Regions from separate parts of the Homo sapiens genome. Here regions 1, 2 and 4 are each linked to region 3. Evidence: promoter capture Hi-C in 16 types of primary human blood cells and fetal thymus (Javierre and others, 2016). All regions are on one chromosome and are shown on one strand. The core of a region is centred on a gene start or on the middle of the fragment in contact, and the rest is flanking DNA. Distances in the headings are between cores, read along the strand shown. Region 1 overlaps RALGAPA2 (Ral GTPase activating protein catalytic subunit alpha 2). Region 2 overlaps RALGAPA2 (Ral GTPase activating protein catalytic subunit alpha 2). Region 3 holds the start of NAA20 (N-alpha-acetyltransferase 20, NatB catalytic subunit). Region 4 overlaps RALGAPA2 (Ral GTPase activating protein catalytic subunit alpha 2).

Evidence for each region. The method cuts DNA at HindIII sites, captures the fragments that hold promoters and counts their contacts. A CHiCAGO score of 5 or more calls a contact.
Region 1: a fragment that was not itself captured here is called in contact with the fragment with the promoter of NAA20 in region 3 in 3 of 17 cell types (naive CD8 T cells, fetal thymus and non-activated CD4 T cells); the score reaches 5.8 in naive CD8 T cells.
Region 2: a fragment that was not itself captured here is called in contact with the fragment with the promoter of NAA20 in region 3 in 1 of 17 cell types (total CD8 T cells); the score reaches 5.2 in total CD8 T cells.
Region 4: a fragment that was not itself captured here is called in contact with the fragment with the promoter of NAA20 in region 3 in 1 of 17 cell types (total CD8 T cells); the score reaches 6.0 in total CD8 T cells.

Annotation. Positions count from the first base shown.
Region 1 is chr20:20,579,430-20,582,307 of GRCh38, forward strand. All of the region lies in intron 20 of RALGAPA2 (Ral GTPase activating protein catalytic subunit alpha 2), which reads right to left. Among named protein-coding and RNA genes, the nearest start is that of RALGAPA2, 130 kb to the right of the region's middle. The HindIII fragment of the contact is 1,229 bases long and covers 676-1,904 here.
Region 2 is chr20:20,694,440-20,697,323 of GRCh38, forward strand. All of the region lies in intron 1 of RALGAPA2 (Ral GTPase activating protein catalytic subunit alpha 2), which reads right to left. Among named protein-coding and RNA genes, the nearest start is that of RALGAPA2, 17 kb to the right of the region's middle. The HindIII fragment of the contact is 809 bases long and covers 1,120-1,928 here.
Region 3 is chr20:20,015,806-20,018,643 of GRCh38, forward strand. It overlaps NAA20 (N-alpha-acetyltransferase 20, NatB catalytic subunit), which reads left to right and starts at 1,557. Exons shown (of 6, transcript NM_016100.5): 1 at 1,557-1,644. The coding sequence starts at 1,592. RefSeq lists enhancers at 1,064-1,243, 1,858-2,358, 2,820-2,838 and silencers at 1,564-1,633, 1,684-1,803. The HindIII fragment of the contact is 8,583 bases long and covers 1-2,838 here.
Region 4 is chr20:20,560,463-20,563,557 of GRCh38, forward strand. All of the region lies in intron 23 of RALGAPA2 (Ral GTPase activating protein catalytic subunit alpha 2), which reads right to left. Among named protein-coding and RNA genes, the nearest start is that of RALGAPA2, 150 kb to the right of the region's middle. The HindIII fragment of the contact is 3,753 bases long and covers 1-3,095 here.

The DNA.
Region 1 (2,878 bases), core at 40-2,539, 560 kb after region 3:
AAGATGCTAGATAACATTTCTCACCAAACCTTACTTTAAAAGTTATCACTGAGCTAACAAGAACATGGAAAGAAAAGAGCAACAAAGCTGGCTTTTTCCCTTTGTGGTTCTGCTAAACCACAGAATTCTTAAAAGTTTCTCTGGTAATGCAGTTTTCATTTTGCTGAGGTTGAATTACTGACACTTTTTTTATGGTTAGCTATTTTTTAAAAAAAATCATAGAACCTTTTAAAAAAGACGTTTTCTTCCAAAAGTTTTTAAATTTTCCTTTTCACATTTATGTACTTTATCCCTCTGAAACTGACTTTGGACATGGCGTGAGGTAGGAATTCTATTTCATTTTTTTCCATATGGCTAAGTACTTGTCCCACAGAAATGTGTTGAACAATACATTGTTTCCTTGTCAGACCTGACAAGCCACATATATCATATATCATGATTCCATGTCTGTGTGCACTCAGTGCTATATTTTATCTTCTGTTCCATCCGTCTATTTGTCTATCTCTATGATTACAACTTTAAGTAAATGTCATAGAATTTATCACATTATTTGTGACTATTAGGATAAATGTTGTGTCTTCTGTCCTTTTTATAAGCTCTTAAAAACTATAGTGGCTTATGACTTATTCATCTTTTTATTTCTCAGAGCATCTAAATCAGTATTTCTAGACTATAAGCTTATTTGTTAAATAAGGGATGAGGTAAATGACAATACTGATTCTTAGCTGTAGACTCATAAATGTCCCCCTCCCCTGACTATTTCAACAGAACTAAATGTATGCATGTCTTAAGTATATTTTCTTATTTTCTGTCTTCTCAATGCTCTGGCATTAGGGCCTCACTGATCAGGGAAGGACTGCCACTTCCAGGGTTAGCTAATTCCTAGAGATAGAAGTCTATTCACCAGGCAGCATGTCTTTCACATGCAAACCTACCAATTCAAAATTCAGACCCTCCAACTACCTCCTTTCTCTAGTTCTCACATACTAAGTCAATATCCCCTGCCCTGTCATCCTAGGACTGGGTACCAGGAAACTAGAAACAGCCCGTATGCTCCAGAGCCCACTGAAGTCATTCATATTAGTAATCCTAAAACTGCATACCCTGCCTTGCCTTGCTATTTCCATAGAAATGACACTAAAAGCGGTTGCCCCATTTTGTTCCTTCTGCCTCCTGGTACTTCCCTGCATGACCCCTGTTTCCAGGGATCCGTGAGTATAAACTTCTTCCTCCATGACAATCATTTCCATGTCTGTATGTCTTACCACATCTGATTAAAACAAATCCCAGGTAAACTTTAAGACAATGCACAGTAAATTTAGCTGTTATTTTCAGCAAACATGATTTAATGAGAAAGCAAATATAAAAGTAAACAGTTTGCCAGTGATGAAGGAATTTAAGATTTTGGAGGCAGTTTATTATTCTAAGCATTTGATAACTGGTAGGATTATTCAATAAGAAACAAAGATATAATCAAATTGTTTCTCTTTGCATGTCCTAAAAATCAGGCTCATATGAGTTTTATTTTGAACATTTATGAAGAAATTGCTCTCTTAAGAACAGAAAGTTAAATTCAGAACTGTGATAATCCTTAAGCCTTATCACATTACAGTTTGTCCTTTTCACAGATGACAAGGTGAACTATTGAACTGCGTGTACTGATTCTCTATATTAGTATTTCAAAGAAGAACGGAGTATTTGGAGGAGTTAATCACAACATGGAGTGCATCATATAAAATTACCTCACAGAGGTTTATTAAATTGAGCTGTCCAATACATACCCTGAAATGGGATCAAAACTAATCTTTCCAAAGAACAGACAAAAGAAGTAATCACCTAATTTTCTTCCCTTTCAATAAAAATAATTAAAACTAGTCCATGTTTAAGTAAATTCAACCTACTGAAGCTTCAGTTTTGCCTCCTACAGTACCACAATGATGACTTTCTTTTGGATAATCTGTAAGGATTCTCAAGTAGGTCAAAGGGCTTTACAGTAATTTTAATTTTAACAGGAACACAGTGTAAAGGAGTAGACATAGCACTGCACGTTGAGTCAAAACATTTTGGAAGCCAGTTTCATCTCTGGAACTCACACTCCAGCTTGATAACAATTTCTCTGGGTCTCAATCTCCCCATCTCTAAAACAGACATGATAAGACTTGGCCTGCTTCCCATACAGAATCAAAGAGAATGCCTCAAAATTCTTTGTAAATGTTGAATCTCATATCAATGTATAGTATTATTAGTCAAAATCATTATTTAGTCTATAAAGAATTTTACTGAATACCACCTTCATATGTTAATTTTATGAAGTTTTAATGACATTCTATCAAGAATTTCCCAAATATCAGAGACGTTAGTTAAATTTTAAATCACAGTGAAAACCAGTTTGCTTGGTTTAAAAAAAAAAATCCATTTAAGGTCAAATTTTAGCCTTTATGTTAATCATTTTAAAATATTTTTTGGCATTTTAATAACACTCTTAACATGTTACTTTGTGGTGGTTGTTTTCATACAAGATACCTGTGTGTGAACATGAATGTGCATCCATAAAAGTCTTGGCTCTGGTCAGCCTTTCCCGCACTGATTCCTCAGACCACGAGTCTCTCCTGACACTCCACAAAACAAAGCAAAACCAAACCCAGCTCCTCCATGGCCTCCCCGTTCTCATCAGCCTGGTCAAACAGGTGAGGGAAACTGACCTTTGAGGTTGACTTACCCAGTGTCACACAGTGTGTGTGTGTGTGTGTGTGTGTGTGTGTGTGTGTCTGTGTGTGTGTAGCTAAAACTGCAGACTACACCACACACAATATTTTGGGCACCTGACTTAGATGTTCACTCATTTATTCTTCCAACAGCCTTCATAAAGTACGGGCTA
Region 2 (2,884 bases), core at 274-2,773, 680 kb after region 3:
TCATCATATTATCCCAGCTTGTGAGCAGCCTCCAATATTGTCATCTCTGCTGTGTCCCTAACACAAGAAAACGAAGGCCCTTCTGGTCACTGGGCAGTCACTCACAGGCACACAATCTGCTAACAGCATGTGAAGGCCTGAAACTCATGACCTGAAGGATGGGTGATAGGGAATTTTGTTATAGGAGTCCAGTGGAACACACTACAGCCATTGAAGTCTTATGTAATTCTTCACTTACTGATGTGGAAAAATATCCAAGGCTTTAAGTCAAAAACACAGTGTTAGACCATGCAGATGACTATTCATGTAAAACCGTGTTTGTGTGTGTAAGCGAGGCAGGTGCAGGGAAGAGAGAGAGAAAGGAATGCACCCAAGCAAGAGCCAGCCTGGAAAGCACGTTCACCGGGATTTCAGTAATGCTTGGCAGGGGACTGCAGAATTTGAGAACCCCTTGATACCTAAATTATTTTTCATATATTCATATTATCCAAATGTTTATAATGAGTATGTAAAATTGTAGAACCAGAAAAAGCTATAAAGCTGTTTTGGGGGGTACTTCCAGGGCGTTCGAGAAAGGGATTTTTTTCAAAGCCTGAATATTTACTGCAAAAAACTCATCAATCATGACACCAGGCCATACTTTTTTCCAAACCTGTCTTACTTTTCAACTTTGAAGAAATCTTAAGACCCAAACAATATATAAAAGAGTATCTTTACCAATTCTAAAATGTTGTAAAAAACAGCAAATGACTTAAATTTTCTCTATCCAACTTTTAAATTACTCCTTCTGTAACAGCACATACATGGTACATAATGCCTTAGAATGACCTAGTTATCTGGAGAAGCTTTGCTGTTTTTGTGTTTCTCTAGACATCATTCACTGAAAAGGATAAAAAATAATAGAACTGGGCAGAAAGACATTTCTCTGTCCAGCCATTCAGCAGCTAGCACTGAGTAGGCATGAGCAAATGTTTGACACTTTTGAATGCAAAGATGTGATGAAATTTCCAGTCACAATGAGACCCATTCCCAAGACCTGGGAGCCTTAGTCCATATGAGTCAACCTTTCCTTGTTGTGCTTAAACCTGACGCTGACTGACTGTCAACTGACAGAACAGAAGCTTCTTCATAGCACACTATAAAAGTGCTAAAGACCTGGTTTATGCTCAGAAATGATGTCTCTGGAAGAATACAAATGATTGTCCTCCTGTATGTAGCTAACCTAATACTGTCATATTTTGAAACACCACAGCCACCTTTCTGAGTAAGACATAAGGTTCAGTTAGCAACACTGGTTCATAGAATTACATCTTTGCAATTAACACTGAGCCAAAGATTAAGATTCCCTCAGGTCTTTCCATTGAGAAAAGACCAACATAAAGCACAACTGGGGTCCTAATTTGGGTGGATATCTGATGTGGAGCCAATCTGCAGTGTTTGCTGCCTTTGCAACCATTCATATTAAATTGTTGTTGTACTGACCCATCAACATTTTTCTGGTCTCATTCTTCTCCAGCCACTGACAGATCTCCATTTTTTTTTTGTCAGCATCAAGGGCACTTTTTAATATGCCTGCTCTCTGCCTGTCAGTAGATTTGGGGATAACAGCAAGCCCGTCTCCATATTGTTACAAGCTCAGGCCGCTGTGTGGGCCCATTACATGGCCCAATGTACTCCAGCTTTCCTGTCCCACTGGCCACAAAGTGTTTCCGTCCTGTCTTCTCATCACTACTCGCTGCTGCAGTAAGGAGGGACACAGGCTGCCTGTCCCCATCTTCCTTAACACCTTTGCTTGCTACAGATTCCACAGCCACTCATTCCTCTTCTCTGGCACTTCTTTCTCTCTCTTCCCTCTTCTCTTGTCTGCCTCCAGTCACTGGTCGGTTTTTGGGCCAAAGATCTGACCTTTTATAAAGTAAGCCAAAGAAAGCTTTGTTACAAAGCTTGTGGTCAGAAAACCTATCTCTGGCAAGCTAACCAAGCAAGTGTAGTCTCTATGAGGGAACCACATTGATTCCTTTACACCTAAAGGTCAGTTCAGATCACTCCTCTGCTCTTTGCTTCACTGGAGTGCCCCATCTTATCTTACTTAGAGTAACATCCCAAGTCCTTACTGGGATGCCAAAGTTCCACACCATCTTATCCCTATTTCCCCTCTCCCACCCCCGCTCCTTTCCCAGTTCCTTCTATCCTCCACCCCTCCACCCCTATTGACTTCCATGAGATTTCCAGTCTATTTATGACTCAGATCCTGGTACTTACTGTTCCTTCTGCTTAGAACACTATTCCCCAAAAATAATCACAAAGCTGCTCCCTTGCTTAACCCAGGTCTCAGTCCAAACCTCCCTTCAGAGAGGCCTTCCCTCACCCCAATATCTAAATAAGCATACACATACCCTTATCAAGCTTAATTTTTCTATCATCATTACCTGAAATTGTATCATATATTTATTATTTGGTTTTTTTGTTCTTGATTTTTAGAGATGGGGTCTCACTGTGTTGGCCAGGTTGGTCTTGAACTCCTGGCCTCAAGCAATCCACCTGCCTGGGCCTCACAAAGTACTAGGATTACAGGCATGAGCCACTGCACCCAGCCTGTTATTTATTGTCCATCCACCCTAATAGAATGAAAGTCCCATAAGTGCTAGGGCTTCATCTGCAAATAGCAGACACTCAGTCACTATATGTGGAATGACTTTAAAAACAGTGGAAACAGTCTAAGCTATGTAGACTTAAAGAGTGGTCAATCCCATTTGTTAAAAGGGCAACGCTTTACTTCCATCAAACTAGAAAAATAATCCTCTCACTTGAGCCTGGGAGAGCAAGGCTGCAGTGAGCTGTGATCACACCACTGCACTCCAGCCTGGGTGACAGAGTGAGACCT
Region 3 (2,838 bases), core at 307-2,806:
TTCCAGGTTTTCTCTGCTTTTTATTGTCTTTGACAATACAAAATTTTACAAATTTGTAAGCTGAGGAAAATTGATAGTAATGAAAATTTTTCTTGTCCATAAAATACAAATGCATAGTGTTATACAGTGCCCAGGAGAGACAGTGATTACAGCTCTGTGGATATTGACCAGTTTAACACTCATGTGTAAATACATTTCAGCATTCCTGCTTGCTTTATGTATTTTATCTCTCTTTATCTTATCTTTTTGAGACAGGGTCTTGGTGTGTCACCCAGGCTGGAGTGCAGTGGTGCAATCATGTCTCAGAGCAACCTCTACCTCCCGGGCTCAAATGATCCTCCCACCTCAGCCTCCCAAGTAGCTGGGATTACAGGTGTGAGCCACTGTGTCTGGTCTGAATAAAGGAATTTTTAACTTTTAATTTTAACTACTTTAAATTTAAAAACTGATGTTTGGTTCAGCGATTTGAAAACAGTATATTTGGAACCGCTTGGATATGAGAATCTGCTTTTTAACCATACATTGATGAAATCTAAATAGAGAACAAGCATTTCCGATGACAGCTGCTCTCTCAGATTGAAATGCACTGCAAATGTAAAATACACACCGGATTTCAAAGTCTTTGCAAAAAAGAATGTAACATATCACATTCCTTTTTTTATTGATTGATTACATGTTGAGTATTGATTGGTTACATGTTGAAATGATATTTCGGGTATAATAAAGTGGGGTCAGGGAAAAATATTTTTCCCAAATAGGAAAAATAAATGGGTAAAATAAAGCGTACTATCAAAATCAATTTTACATTTCGTTTTGCTTTTATTTATTTATTATTTATTTTTGAGACCAAGTCTAGCTCTGTCGCCCAGGCTGGAGTGCAGTGGCGAGATCTCGGCTCACTGCAACCTCCGCCTCCTGGGTTCAAGCGATTCTCCTGCCTCAGCCTCCAAGTAGCTGGGATTAGAGGCGCGTGCCACCACGCCCAGCTAATTTTTATTTCTTTCCTTTTTTTTTTTTTTTTAGTAGAGAGGGGGTTTCGCCATGTTGGCCAGGTTGGTCTCGAACTGCTGAACTCAAGTGATCTGCCCGCCTTGGCCTCCCAGTGTTGGGATTACAGGCGTGAGCCACCGCGCCCGGCCTTCTTTTTGTTTTTAAACGTGGTATTGACATTTTAAGATGACATCTGCAACTCGCAACACTGGGACAAGGGATTCTGGGTCATAAATTCTCCCATTCCTCATTTACTCTGCAGCACCGGGTGGCTGCGAACTCCGCTCTTCTGCTTGGGTTTCCGCATCACCAGCAGCTTCTTTCCTTCCCAGGTGTCGCCGCCTGCTTTCTGCAGCCGCTGCCTGGGAGGGGTTCCGAGGTTCTGGGCAGCCACAGCCCCGGAGGCCTTACAGGAGCGACCTGGCAATTCCCGCCGCCGGCCGCCAGAGGAAGCTGCTTTGCTGCTGTCGTTGCCCAGCAACTCGTAGCCCGGAAGCAGTACCCCGTCTCGCTCGGTTCCGCGGCGGCCACGCTCCGGGAGACTTCCGGCAGGGCGGGCGCGGGGTCTTGGCGAACGGTCTTCGGAAGCGGCGGCGGCGCGATGACCACGCTACGGGCCTTTACCTGCGACGACCTGTTCCGCTTCAACAACATGTGAGTGACACGCGCCTAGGGCCAGCCGCTCTTGGCCGGGCCTCGCTTCCCGGCCCCGCCAGCTCCGGCCCCAGCCGCGCCTTCCCGGCCGGACCCCAAGCCCGGACGGGGACCCGCGAGAACCACCCCCCGCCGGCCAACGTGGGCGCCTCCCTGGGGCCACAGGGTCCAGGGAGAGGTGGGCCTGGAGTCGACGCACGCCGGCCTTGGCGACCTTGGCCGAGGTGCTCAAACTTTGTCTCTGGACCCTGCGAGCTGGCAGGTTCTGGGGCAGCGCTCGGGCCTCCGCTCGTGGTCGCTGTCAGGAGGCGCTGGGGTGATGGGGCGAGCTGGAGACGCGGCCTGGAGCCCACGACCTGGGCTTCTCGCCCTGCCCTACTGCTTGCTGGTTCGTGGCCGGGCCGCGCCTCTTCTGGGCAGAGGGCACCGCCGACGGCCAGGCCGCAGAGGGGGCTTGCGAGGATCGGAAGCTGGTCAGCAGCTGTTGGGATGTGTACATCGTGAAGCCCACCTGGTGGCCGTGGTTAAATTGTATCCAAATGAAATGACACTGATCACTGCGTCCCCTGCAGCAGATGCTGTCTCAGTCATGGTTAGTGTTTGCAAGTTTAGTTACTGTAGCTGCGCACCCCGGTGTACACACCTTTCCTCTGTGAGGAGTCACGGCAGATCTTAGGGGAGGCTCGCTGTGCCCAGAGCCCTGGATGCAGTTTCTTTGGATTCGAGTTAAGGCCAGACCTCTGATTTGCAGGTACCAATTTTTTTTTTTTAAGAAAACATTTTATTATGAAGATTCCCACACATTTAGAAAAGTTGGAGGAATTTCACCATGTGCTTTTATAGACACTTTTCCTGGATTCTGCAGTTAACATTTTGCTACGCTGGTATCTCTCCTTCCTTCCCATCTATCAGTCCTGGATCCACTTTAAAAAAACAACAGGGCGGTATGTGAAAACTAAGGACAAAGTGGTTCCGATTCAAGTGTCAGGAAGATGGAAAGAACTATGGGATAAGATGGCTGGGAACATTTCAAAGAGGGGGTGAGCCTTGAAGATGGATAACACATTGGTAAGTGAGGAAGACGGAAGTTCCGGAGAAGGAGCGGGGCATGAAAATGGGGAAACTTGAAGTGCGGTCAGACAACTGGGATCAGTGCGAATCTAGTGGCTGGTTTCTGCCACTGAGCAGTCAGGA
Region 4 (3,095 bases), core at 469-2,968, 540 kb after region 3:
CTGCAATTACCACAATACCACTTATTGTTATGTATTAAAAAGAAATCAACAGACAAAAAGAGATTATTCCCCACAAGGAGAGCACTTTTCTCACGGAAACAAAAATTGCAATTTAAAATGCTTTTCTTGACATTATATCCTTCTATCCAAGTCTACTCTTTATGAATTATAAACCACAGTCATGATTTAAATCTCTTATATTCAAAAATCATTCCTCTCCAAATGGGAGTTAATGTATCCTCCTTCCCCAAGTATAACTTTAGTACCTGAAATGTCTCTAGAAGCTATTCCTGTGTCTCTCAGTGCCTCTGTGCCTGGAGAAAAATGTAACATTTCTTAAAGTCTTCATAGAACTCTAAATGAGAAAAGATGGTCTTACAGGTCAATAGCTATATTCCAAAGAGCAGGAAAATCCCTTCTGCAATGAAATGTACCATTGCCTACTGAAGGCCTAACTATCTTTCCCTTCCCAAAGTCCCAGAGTCATCAGAAACCCGTTTCATGGAATAAGCAGCACAAGCCAAACAGGCTATGTATCTGTTCACCAATTCATGGATGCAGTGACTTGAGTGCAAGGCTAGGTAGGGCTCAAGCTCTAAAGTGAATGTTCCCTTTTTCTGAGGCTGTCCTAGAGCGTCAGACAGCCTTGGACTGAATACTTTAGAGCTTGAAAGGCTTACAAACACAGAACCTATCACCTGCCATATTTGAACAGAAAACTGGATTTAGTGTCTCCTGATGATGAGCTAGAATCTACCTATTAGTCCTGGCTCTGGGTAAAACAGTCTCTCTCACACAGCACTGCTTCAGACATTTGAAAAAGGCAATTATCTGTCTCCATGCACCAGCCCTTTTCCATGCAAGCTGTTCTCTCAGCCATCCTGCTTCCTCTTAGCTACTCAGGCAGTGCTCATGCAAGAAGTGGAACCTGAGCCCCCTTCCTGCCTCCTTTCATACATACAGTGCCTTGGGCTTTGCAGATGCAGGCCACACAACTTTCTACTTTGGGCTTCCAGACAAAATTCATCTCAGATAATTTTCATGTTAACTTCAGAATTAATCAGAACGTTCCATGTTTTATTTCTTAAACTGATTTTTTTAGACAGAGAATTTAGTAAGCTGAACCATTATGAAATTGTACCCCCTTTTTGAAAACTCATTTAACTCAACCTGAAACATTGACTCTCTTAATCTCCCTGGTTAAATTTTTGTATGCATTTATTCCCTTGGTTAAGCTAACAGAGTGAGACTTTCATACTGTCTTTGATTACTGAGTTGTGTCATTTAATTTATATTACCTAGCTCTTTTCTTAGGACAATGTCATCTGCAGAAGTACTCCTTTAGGGCAAGGTTTCTCAACCTCAGCAGTACTGACATTTTTGGTCATAAATTCTTTGTTGTGTTTCTGTGCACTACAGGATATTTAACAACATCCCTGGCTTTCACCCACCAAATGACAGTGCACTTTATGACAACCAAAAGTGTGTCCAGACATTGCCAAATGTTCCCTGGAGGGGGCAAAATTCCCCTGCCCCTCAAGAATCACTGTTCTAGGGTAATGAAAGTTGACTAGCTCACCACAGTAGAAAGTTAATGCCTGCCTTGAAACTGATAGTTGGAGCCAAAATTGCAACCAAAGTGGCTCAGCTCAGCTGCTTTGGTTACCCATTCTTCCCCATGATGCTGTGTAGATTTGGAATAGCCAGTCTCAGAAGAAGGTCTTTTTTTTTTTCTTCCATTTTCTATCAATCAATATATCTACTGAGCATCTACCCTCTCTGGGAAAAGACAGAATGCACTCCAGTGACTCTATTAAAAAAGATTCCGGTGATCTGGGCTCTGTGACAGGCCACAGTAGAGTCTCCTTCCAGAGAGAAACCTCAGAGCAAAAGAACATGTTCTCAACTGAAAAATGTATGCCAACTGATACACGATATCACACGGTAACAGTTTACTAAGAACAAAATCTTTCCTTTTCCCACATATACTGAGAGTTGCTATACTATTTTTATGCTTTATTTCACGTAGCATGTCTTATTAGATACCGGAAGATTTTGGGCTAAATATACATAATTCATATTCATGTCTGATAACATTTACTTGAAAGAAAGTCTTTACACCTTTAAATCCAACAAAGGAAACCAAACAAAACTGTAGTTTCTGGCCTGTCAGGTAGATTTTCTTCTCTCTGGATCAGCCTCCATGCTATCATCTTACACTTTTTAAAGCTGTGAAACAAGTTCACTGCACATGTGTTAAACCTCATAACCGAAACCTCTGCCATCTGTTACCTCCTACATATTTTTACTTTCCTCATTGAGGTACAAGTGGGCTCTGTCTACAGATTAATGAAAATAATTATTGATTCTACAGCTATAAAAAAAAGAAAAAATATCTCGCATTTATTTTTGGTGCAGTCATCTATCTGAAGTCTTTATGGCGATTGATAGCTGAATAAAGTTATAATAAAACTTTCATTGATAAATTTTGATGAATCTGTGGCTTGTCCATTCCCACAAAACCTTGTGGAAAACACTCGGAAGGCAGTGGATGCTACCTGATGGTGTAACGTTAATTATATGACAGCTTCTGTATTTTATCACTCTGAATTTGTACAATAAGCACAAACAGGAATTATGATTAACTTAACAATACATGTCAGGAGAGGACTGTCATCTCTCACCTGTCCTTATAAATATTATCCTTCAATCAAACCTAAGTCAAACTTGGAAGTTTTGTTTATTGCTACAGTAAACTCCCCTTATATTCAATAATATTTCATTAACTTGAGTAAAGTAAATTCAGGTCAGAAGTTGTATTTTTAGAAAAATAAAAGGACTTGTTTTTAAGTGCTACATTACTTTCAGAAATAATTAGTAACAAATATATGTCTTGGCTAACAAAAACATCAATTACAGAGCCCTTTAGATGTCCCATTTTAATAATTATAAATACATTTACAATTTGCATACCAACTGCTTGAATTCCAACAGAATTAGAAAATATGTTCTCTTAAGTACAGAGAAAATGTCCCTGGAAATCTTTCCTGCACATTTCTAATTCCTAACAGGCAAGAATTCTTTGGGGACACCCC